Linked DNA regions of Homo sapiens: all the other regions are linked to region 1. Evidence: promoter capture Hi-C in 16 types of primary human blood cells and fetal thymus (Javierre and others, 2016). All regions are on one chromosome and are shown on one strand. Each heading gives the region's core, a stretch centred on a gene start or on the middle of the fragment in contact. The rest is flanking DNA. Distances are from core to core; before and after follow the strand shown. Region 1 holds the start of LECT2 (leukocyte cell derived chemotaxin 2). Region 2 has its middle 21 kb from the start of SMAD5. Region 3 overlaps SMAD5 (SMAD family member 5).

The links. The method cuts DNA at HindIII sites, captures the fragments that hold promoters and counts their contacts. A CHiCAGO score of 5 or more calls a contact.
Region 2: a contact is called between a fragment that was not itself captured here and the fragment with the promoter of LECT2 in region 1, in 4 of 17 cell types (monocytes, M2 macrophages, M0 macrophages and 1 more). The highest score is 6.0, in monocytes.
Region 3: a fragment that was not itself captured here is called in contact with the fragment with the promoter of LECT2 in region 1 in 4 of 17 cell types (M0 macrophages, megakaryocytes, M2 macrophages and 1 more); the score reaches 6.7 in M0 macrophages.

Annotation. Positions count from the first base shown.
Region 1 is chr5:135,953,112-135,956,551 of GRCh38, forward strand. It overlaps LECT2 (leukocyte cell derived chemotaxin 2), which reads right to left and starts at 1,872. Exons shown (of 4, transcript NM_002302.3): 1 at 1,677-1,872. The coding sequence starts at 1,722. The HindIII fragment of the contact is 4,908 bases long and covers 1-3,266 here.
Region 2 is chr5:136,109,958-136,113,587 of GRCh38, forward strand. No RefSeq gene overlaps it. Among named protein-coding and RNA genes, the nearest start is that of SMAD5, 21 kb to the right of the region's middle. The HindIII fragment of the contact is 8,576 bases long and covers 1-3,630 here.
Region 3 is chr5:136,154,891-136,158,352 of GRCh38, forward strand. The region is part of intron 3 of SMAD5 (SMAD family member 5); the gene reads left to right. Among named protein-coding and RNA genes, the nearest start is that of SMAD5-AS1, 22 kb to the left of the region's middle. The HindIII fragment of the contact is 682 bases long and covers 1,773-2,454 here.

The DNA.
Region 1 (3,440 bases), core at 622-3,121:
CTTCCAGAATTTTATTTCCTGATTCAGATGTAAAATTGGCTTTTTCCCTGGCCACAGAATTCTGCTTTGTGACGTTAGAGTATCAGTGAATACAATTTTTTTTTTTTTTGGATCGGAGTCTCACTCTGTTGCCAAGCTGGAGCACAGTGGCGTGATCTCAGCTGACTTCAACCTCCATCTCCTGGGTTCAAGTGATTCTCCTTCCCCAGCCGCCTGAGTAGCTGGGACTACAGGTGCGCACCACCACACCCAGCTAATTTTTGTATTTTTAGTAGAGACGGAGTTTCACCATGTTGGTCAGGACGGTCTTGATCTCTTGACCTCGTGATCTGCCTGCCTCAGCCTCCCAAAGTGCAGGGATTACAGGCGTGAGCCACTGCGCCCAGCTGAATGTGTTTCTTTATAAGCATTGGCCTCCATCATTATACTTTGCTTCAGATCCATTAGTAAATGGTATAAGTTGTGCTTTTCTATTTTTCTTTGCTCATTATCTGCCATGGGGATCATTATTTTTAGATTAAGCAAAAATAATAAAATAGCATGGCTCAGAAAATAATTTTAGAAATTGTAATTTTGAAATGGTTAGTTCCACTAATCAAATCCAAGCAAATGTTTGAATTAAAGGAGAAACGAACTCTGTACTAGCCAAGTTTGTTTAACACTAGATAAATCTCTCATAGTTGCCAACATGGAAGAGGGAGATTCTTAAAAATAATCTGAAATGTCAAACCAATTTAGCCTAGACTGAGATTAGGGGTGAAGGTAGGAGAAGGAGTAGAACCAATTATATGAAAAATTATGAAACGTGGAGGAGGGGCTGCTTTCTCAGCAGACTTGGTGCAAACTTTGTTTCAGGCACAATTTGTTTCTTTACTATAGTAAGCACTTAATAAATGTTCAATGGAATTAAATGTCCTGGATTTCCAGTGTTAACATTCACAGAGAGATACAGTGAGCACACTCAACCTTGCACTTTGAAACAAACAAGCAAAAGCGAGAGCCTGGTAATTTGACTATTGATTTTATTTAAAGACATTTTACTCTTCATTAATACCTATCCTGTGAAGAGAACCTACAGAATATGGCCATTAAGCCTCTTCTTTAAAATACTTTTAAAAGGTGGGTTTCAAAAGTTTTATGCCTTGGAGCCAAGCTCCAAATCAACACCTTGATCAAGATATAATCCCATCACTTTGGCAACTAATATTTATCCTTGGGAATTGAGGCAAATATCAGACAGTGTAGTAATTTATTCACTTTTTCCTCCTTCGGTGAGTATTAAGGGAGCCATCCCTTTGTCTTAATCCATACCAGTCTCTGTATTAGTATCTGTATCAGAATTTGATTTTGATCAAAATCAGAATCAAATATTTATATCAACTTTTTATTATCTAGTTTTGTTCTAGTTAAGTCCCAGACCCAGACTCAGACTGAAAGGCTTTGTAATGTCTTCTCAACCCACTATTATGTTTCCCTCATTAAAGAACCGGAACATTCCATTTAAATTACTTAAAACATCCTCAGGACCATGTGTCATTCCTATTTCATTTTTAATAGCCAAATACACAAGTCTTTGTTGTGATCATGCTATTAATGACTTTTTAATCTTTTTAGTCTTCCCCTGAAATCAGTTTTTAAAAGTTAATCAATATTCTAAAATTGCACTTTCGACTTACCGGTAGAAATCAGACCAGCCAAAAGGAGGGCTTTGGTGGAAAACATCTGGTTTTACTTCCTTTAGTTTCTTCCTCTGATTAGAGTTGCCCCCACACTCTCTTTGAAGAATATTCAAGTTTGAATGAATACTTCCTAGCTATTTAGCCTTAGAATTCTGCATCTCTCATTTCTTTAGTGTGAGACACAAAAAGTTTAAGAGGATGGAGCAAGTCAAGTTCTAATATTCCATGGATAGCTATTTGATTTGCAGGTAGGGCCTATGTAAAAGCCTTTGATCTGAAGAAGAAGCCAATTATATTGGAAATACTGACTAAATATTAACAGAAAATGATAAGGCTAGGTGCATATCGACAGTCTTCTGGGCTGTGGCTTGTAGGAGAATGTTCGTGCGAATGATGGAATATTTAGTGCTGCCTGCTGGTAGATCTTTCTTTTATTTCCTTGATAGCACATATTTCAGAAGAAAATTGGTCATTAATAATGTGTAGCCCTTCATAACATATTCCTTAATATATCCCTTAGGTGTTTTTGAATTCTCAGTTTAATTATATTTCACCTGTGTAATATTTGCAAATAACTTTAATATTTTAATAAAATTGCATGTATTCACCTTAAATATGTGATTTTTAAATGTTTTCTTGTTTATGATAATGGTAAGTTAACACCATTAAAAGCATCCATCAATAAAGGAAAAAAGATTAATTATAATATAGTCATTGATATGGTTTGGATCTGTGTCCCCACCCAAATCTCATGTTCAATTGTAATCCCCAGTGTTGGAGGTGGGGCCTGGTGAGAGGTGATTGAATTATGGGGCTAGAGTGCTCATGAATGGGTTGGCATCATCCCCTTAGTGCTGTTGTCCTGATAGTGAGTGAGTGAGTTATGGTGAGATCCGGTTGTTTAAAAGTGTGTAGCACCTCCCCTGTTCTCACTTCCTCCTGCTTCAGCCGTGTAAGACATGCCTGCTTGCCCTTTGCCTTCCGCCATGATTTTCAGTTTCCTGAGACGTCCCAAGAAGCTACCATGCTTTCTGTACCTCTTTTCTTTATAAATTACCCAATCTCAGGTATTTCTTTATAGCAATGCAAGAACAGAATAATACAGTCATACAACAGAGTAAAATATAACAATTTAAATGAAGACAATCTACATGTATTAACACAGCTAGATCTCTAGATATACTGTTGAATTAAAAAGCTATTTTTAGAATTATATATATAGTATCATACTATTTATAATATGTAAAATCTGAAAACAAGTATATTAATCTTAATGAATGCTGTATGTATAATAAAAATATGCACAGACTACCTTTAAGGTACTAATTACTTCTGGATAGTGAGAGAAATAAAACCGTGGAAGGATATACAGAGTACATAAACTCTAAAATATTTTATTTCTAAAAAAAGAAAAAAATCAGAAGCAAATATGTTAAAATATTAATTTGTTAATTATTGGAGATAGACACATGGATGTTATGTTACCCTGTACTTTTCTGGGGAATTAAATTTTCAGTGTGTTTCAAATATATGTTAGCAGCTCCTTTTTAGCTTAATATTAGATGAGCACCTGGAATTTTCTATGGAAGCTTCCCCATTTAAATTATGTGCCAGTAGCTGTGGGAGATTGGGATTGTAGCCCCAGTTCTTCACCCTCTCTGCATCCACACCTTTGCCATGTTTCATGGGGGCAAAGGGAACTTTCCTCACCCTTGATTTTGGGTTTAGCTGTGTAGCTTTGACCACTAAGATGAGGCAGAA
Region 2 (3,630 bases), core at 735-3,234, 160 kb after region 1:
ATTTACAAAGAACACAAACATTCAGACCATAGAATCATTTCTTGCAGATAAGCAGGCCAGGACAGAGTCCTCCTCCCTAGCAAGACATTATCAACTGCTCTAGAACCTGAGTCTGAGGAACAGCACGTGTGCCTCTTTTGAGTCAGTAAAGTCAGCTGGACCTGTTGGAAAGGTGGCATGGGGTGAGAAGTCTTTGCTTCCCTTAATCCCACCTCATCTGAGATCTGCTTCCAATTTTAATGTTGTTTCTGGGGAGAGGCCCAGAACTGTCTCTGAGCCTTTTTAACAGTGAGAAGATTTATACAAGTCATGTGAACTACCCTGAAATATTTAAAAGCTAACTCATGATGGAAGACCTTAGACCTATTCTGTGGGTTTCCAGAGGATATGTATCCTTGTCAATAGTGGGAATGACCAACCTGGGCAACAAAGCAAGGTCCCATGTCTACAAAAAAATGTAAAAATTAGCTGGGCACAGTGGTATGTGCCTGTAGTCCCAGTCATTTGGGCGGCTGAGGCAGGAGGATCTTTTGAGCCCAGGAGTTTGAGGCTGCAAGTGAGTTATGATTGTGCCACTGCACTCCAGCCTGGGTGGCAGGGCAACACCCTATCTCAAAAAGAATAGTAATGATAATAAAATGGGGATGGGTTATAGGGGAAGTGGGGCATTTTTGACTCATTGTAAGGAATTACCTAAGAAACTGAGTATATAAAGGAATGAACCATTTCCTACAGCAGCAGTGAGTTCCCTGTCACAGGAAGAGTGTAAGCAGAGAGCTGATGGCCATTGTCAGGCTTGTTAGAGGATGACTAGGATGCTCTAACAAGGAGGGAATGTTGTTCCCTTCCAGAATTTCATTCGAATATGAGATGTATGAGAATAGGGACTGCATCTGCTTGTCCATGGTTGTACACCAGTTACATGAGCAATGCTTGTGTAGAGGATGTTTGGTGTGTATTTTTGAACAGGGAAGTAAAATAATGATCGAAGGGAGGAAACTGAAGCTCCGTGTCATCTTTACCTAGCACACAGCTTGCTGCATAGCAACAGAAACTTGCCTCTCAGGGTGTCTATGTGGATCCTTAGAATTCTCTTTTTTTCCCCAAATCCAAGTTAATAGTCCTATCATCTGGAAACCTGGATGCTCTATGATCTTCAGCATCATTCAAATCTGTCTGAGTTTCAGAAATGACTACTCAACATTATGGATGAATTAGGCTTTAAAACATTCAGATTTGGGCTGTTCTCAGAACACATAGCAGCATAGCAAGGCATCAAAGTTTTGGGCTTTGGATTCATACAGACTTGACTCTATCACTTAAAAGTGTGACTTTGGCTGGGTATGGTGGTTCACACCTGTAATCCCAGCACTTTGGGAGCCTAAGGCAGGAGAATCACTTGAGCCCAGGAGTTTGAGACCATCCTGGGCAATGTAGGGAGACCCCATCCCTACAAAAAATAAAAACAAATAACTCAGGCTTGGTAGCATCTGCCTGTGGTCCCGGCTACTGGGGAGGCTGAGGTTGGAGGATCACTTGTGTCTGGGTGGTCGAGGCTGCAGTGAGCTATATGATTGAGCCACTGCACTTTAGCCTGGGCATCAGAGTGAGACTCTGTCTCAAATAATAAATAATAATAATAATATGATTTTGAGCAAATGGCCTTCTCATGTTGCTTTCAACCTCAGTTTTCTCACCTGTGAAATAGGGGCAATAACAATACACTTAACAGTACACTCAAATTACTGTCAAAATTACTATTTCATATGCCTGTCTCACAGCCACATGAGGGAAGGTTCTCCATTTTAAGCTGCTAATCACCCCTAAGCTGTTAGTCCCAGGCTCAGAGCTTGGTGGCAGCTCAAATTGCAGACCTAGAAAAACAGTTTGGGAAGAGACTCAGGGCTCATCAGGCAGTTGTCAGGCAGTGAAGATTAGCGAGTAGAGAACAAGATTGTCACCCACCTTGATATAGTTTGGATGTGTGTCCTTGCCCAAGTCTCATGTCCATATGTAATCCCCAGTGTTGGGGGGTGGGTGGGGGGGTGCTGGTGGGAAGTGATTCGATCATGGGAGTGAATTTCTTTCTTTCTTTCTTTTTTTTTTTTGAGACAGAGTCTCATTCTGTCACCCAGGCTGGGGTGCAGTGGCATGATGTCAACTCAATGAAACCTCCGCCTCCTGGGTTCAAGCAATTTTCCTGTCTTAGCTTTCTAAGTAGCTGGGATTACAGGCATGCACCACAATGCCCAGCTAATTTTTTGTGTTTTTGGTAGAGATGGGATTTTACCACATTGCCCAGGCTGGTCTTGAACTCCTGAGCTCAGGTGATCTGCCTGCCTCGGCCTCCCAAAGTGCTTAGGATTACAGGTGTGAGCCACCACACCCGGCCAAGGGGGTGAATTTCTTATTAATGGTTTAGCACCATCCTCTTGGTTCTGTCCTCATGATTGTGAGTTCTCATAAGATCTGGTTATTTAAAAGTGTGTGACACCTTCCCTCTCTTGCTCCTGCTCTGGCTATGTGACATGCCTGCTCCCACTTCACCTTTTGCCATGACTGTAAGTTTCCTGAGGCCTCTCCAGAAGCTGACCAGATGCCAGCATCATGTCTCCTGTACTGTTTGTGGAACCATGAGGTCATTTCGTGACCTCTTTTCTTTATAAATTACCAGTCTCAGGTATTTCTTTACAGCAATGCAAGAATGGCCTAATACACACCTGTAAACATTTTAGGAAGCTCACTAGGGACAAAAACAAAGTGCCTTCTTGTCTTCAGATTCCTTTATACATCAGAGAGTTGGGAGGGAAAGCTGTCATGCTCAGAATTTCACATGGGCCCTTGCAAAAGGAGCATGTGTTTCTATGAGAGGTGGGGCCAAAGAGATTGTCAGTATGGGGAAGTGCCCCAGGACTCTTAACTCACAGCTAAGGGAAAGAGGGAGTGGAGGGGAGCAGCAGCGTTTGTGAACCAGCAGGCAAGGGAAGCCCCTAGAGGAGCAGTGTGGTCTAGTGGGAGTTGAGGGGCCTGCTGGGGTTATGGAGAGTACCAGGAAGGAAGCAGCTCTGGGGGAAATAGTCCTTGGAATCTGCTGCCTTCTGCCAGCTAGGGTTCAGTCCATAATCCCAGCACTGGGATTAGGAAGGCTCAAATGTCTTCAGTGTTACCATCACCATGAACTAGAGCCAAGACCAGCACCCAGGTTAGCTGATTTCTGGGCACTGTCTGTTCCCTTTAATTTCTGCCCTCCCAGGGGACACCTGGAAAGCTCTGAGGTCCTGTGGTGATGGGGGCTTATTCATTTGATTCTGGAAATATTTACTGTCATTCACTCTGTTCCAGGCCTGGTGGTAAATCTGGGGGATAAAAAGGAGAGCAAAGACACTCATTTATTCACTTGGTCAGCGAATTGTGAGTGGGACTGATGGGCTCTGTACTATGTGCTGTGCTGGGTTTGAGGACACAAAGACAAGTGACTTCGTTCCTCCTGTAAGCACACATTGAATGCATGTTGTATGATGCTGGAAACAAAGATAAACCTGAGCCTATATTCTGCCCTCAGGGAGCTCACAGTGTCGGGGCAGACAGACACACAAATGCAGCAGTGTGTAAACAAAGCCAGTATGGAGG
Region 3 (3,462 bases), core at 864-3,363, 200 kb after region 1:
TGTTTGGCCCCTAAGACAGTATGCTATCCTGGTTCTCCTACCTCACTGACTGTTCTTGCCCCTCTTTGCTGGCGTATTCTCCTGTTTTCACAGGAGTCAGTCCATGGACCTTTTCTCCATTTATATTATTTCTTTATGTGCTTTCATGCTGTCACATGTCTTAAGATTGTCTATAAGCTGATGCTCACATTTTGAACTCAAGTCAACTTCTCCCTTGAGTTTTAGATTTGTGTATCCAGTTGCCTACTTGACATTTCCACTTGAATATTTATTTATTAAACATACCAAATGTAATATGTCTAAGCGCAGTTTTTTTTCTCTGGTTTCCCCTATTGAAGTGAATGGCAACAGCATTCATGTAATTGCTAATGCCCTAAACTGCAAGGTCATCTTTTATTCTTCTTACTTAAATCCTATATTTAAAATATGAGCAAATGCTGTTTGCTGCACCTTCAAAATATGTCTTAATAAATATGTCACCTCTCATCATTTGTGACATCACTACTTTAGTACAGTACATCATCATCATCACTCACCTTAAGTAGTGTCCTAATTGGTCTTTCTGCGTCTCTTCTTCCCCTTAACCCATTGTGTTTTCCACACAACAGCCAGAATGATTTTTTAAAAACATACTAAATCATGTCAGTTCCTACTGAAAACACTTTCAAGGCTGTCACACTTAAAGAGATTTCTGTAAGACTCTGTATGACCTATCCTCAGAGTTCTCTGTTCCTTGGACTTGCCATACTCCTGTTTCCAGGCTTTAACTCTTGCTGTCTACTTATTCTCCCCCAGGATCTTTCCATGGCACATTTTCTCATTCCATTCAGTCCTTGCTCAAATATCCGCATCACTAATTGACTCTATATTAGATATTTATTTTGTTTATTGACTGACATGAGCAGAGTCTTCCTCTATTTCATTCATTACTCTATCCTTAGTGCTTAGAATAGTATATTGTTGTCTGGCACTTGGTAGGTGATGCTCAGTAAATTTTTTTTATAATGAATGGTATAAGCTGAGCTGCTAGCTGAGTGCATTAGTCATCTATTGCTGCATGACAGATTGCCACAAACTTAGTGGCTTAGCACAATGCATGTTTATTACCTCACAGTTTCTTTGGGTGAGGAGTCCAGTCACATTTAGCTGGGTCCTTTGCAAGGCGCTGTAATCAAGGTGTTGGTTAGGGCCAAGGTCTTATCAGAAGCTCAATTAGGGAAGGATCTGCTTCCAAGCCCATGTGATTGTTGACAGATTTAGTTGCTTTCACATAGCCTTCTTTATAGGTAGTTCACATTCATGACAGCTTCTTCAAAGCCAGTAAGGAAGAGAGGGTCTTCTGGTAAGAAGGACATTATATTCTTGTGGAATGTAATCATACATACGCTGTCACCTTTGCCATATTCTGTTGGTTAGAAGGAAGTGATAGGTCATACTCATACTCAAGCAGGGAGAATTACCCAATGGTTTGAATACCTGGAGGTGGGAATCACAGTGGTTACCTTAGAGTCTATCTGGGTTTCACGTGGAGATGTGTGGTAAAAAGACTGAAAATAACATTGGATGTGGAGACTAGTAGAAAGGATAGCAGATAGCAGTGATTATGCTGTCTGTGAAAGTTCAACTTAAGAGCTTTAGAGTGTCTTTAGACAGTTGGTATGATATGATTCTCAGTTTCTTACTGAGTCCAAGGAAAGCTGATAGCTGAAGGAACTGATGAAGAAAGGAAGATAAAAGGATTTAATAGAGAAGTATAGGCTGAAAAACTCCCAAGCTTGCTATTTGCTAGGAGGGAGTCTAGGAATTTTATGTATTCCCCTATAGCCAAAGTGTGACTAGTAGTCAGCCAGCCAATAGAAATGTCTTATTTTTTGTATACATTTTTCTCAGCTATGATTCATTCTATAGAAAAGACTGGGGCATAGCTCTGATACTTTTAAATAACGGAAAATTTCATGTCTTACTAGTTCAACTATTGGAAAGAGACTATAGAGACCTCATGTTTCGCCCTGAGCCCAAACTCTTGGGGGAAGGGGCAGATTACCCAGCTAGATTAGCTTGCTGACCCCCCATGATTAAGCAGCTATGACGCAGAATGGATCACTTCATATTACCAGTATTAATAAAGTAGTAGAAGGTGGTGGTAGTGATAGTAGTAACAGTGATAGCAATTAATATTTATTGAGCACTGATGGAATAGTGATTCCTTCATGGGGTTAGAAAAGGGTACTGACATTTTACAACCCTTTCAGTTTACTTATGGGTTTATAGATAAGGAAACAAAGACTTAAAAGGGAAGTAACTTAGGCATGCTCACACAGTTAGAATATAGTGGAGTAAGTTTTGCAAAAAGATAAAAAGATGGAGGATAGTTAGAAAGAGATAATGAACATAAGAAAAATAGAGGGCCAACCTAGGTGGTCCTAGGTGTTTAGTTGAATACAGTGCACCCTAAGCTTTTTGGCACCAGGGTCTAGTTTCATGGAAGACAGTCTTTCCATAGAATTGGTTGGGGGATGGTTTTGGGATTATTCAAGCACATTATATTTATTGTGCACTTTATTTCTATTATTACATTGTAATATGTAATGAAATAATTATACATTTCACCATAATGTCAAATTAGTGGGAGCCCTGAGCTTGTTTACCTGCAGCTAGGTTGTCTCATCCAGGCATGATGGGAGACAGTGACAGATCATCAGGCATTAGATTCTCATAAGGAGCGCACAACCTAGATCCCTCATATGTGCAGTTGGCGATAGGATTTGCTTTCCTATGAGAATCTCATGCTGCTACTGATCTGACAGGAGGCGGAGTTCAGGCGGTAGTGAGAGCAATGGGGAGTGGCTGGAAATACAGATGAAGCTTCGCTCACTCTCTCTCACCATCACCTCCTGCTGTATGGCCTGGTTCATAAGAGAGCATGAACTGGGGGGGTTAGGGACCCCTGATCTAATAGACAGTATTGTCTATTGATTAAGACTGTGGGTTCTGGAGCCAGGCTTTCTGGATTTGAATCCTGGTTTTACCAAATACTACCTCAAGCCTTAACCTTTCTGAGATTTAGTTTCCTCATTGTAAAATGGTAATAATACTACCTACCTAATAGGTTGTTATGAGCATTAGATGAGTTGGTGCCTTAAAAAGTACTTGTTAAAACATTAAGTGGCCTGGAATCAGTTTCAAATTAAATATCAATTCTAATAGAATAATATATTCTGGAAATAGAGCATTGAGGAAGATGGCAGAGAGAAAATTTTCCAAGAAATAATATCAAACACTTCCCCAAACTGAAAATTGAAAGGGCTCAGTGACCAAGTAATCAGAACAAAGGATAAAAAAAGCCCCACATGAAATTTTTGTATATCATAGATTAAAAAAAAGATTCTGAAAACTTTCCAGAAAAGAAAGACAGGAAACATATAAAGGACTAGAAATCAGAATACTGGATTTCTCAATGCA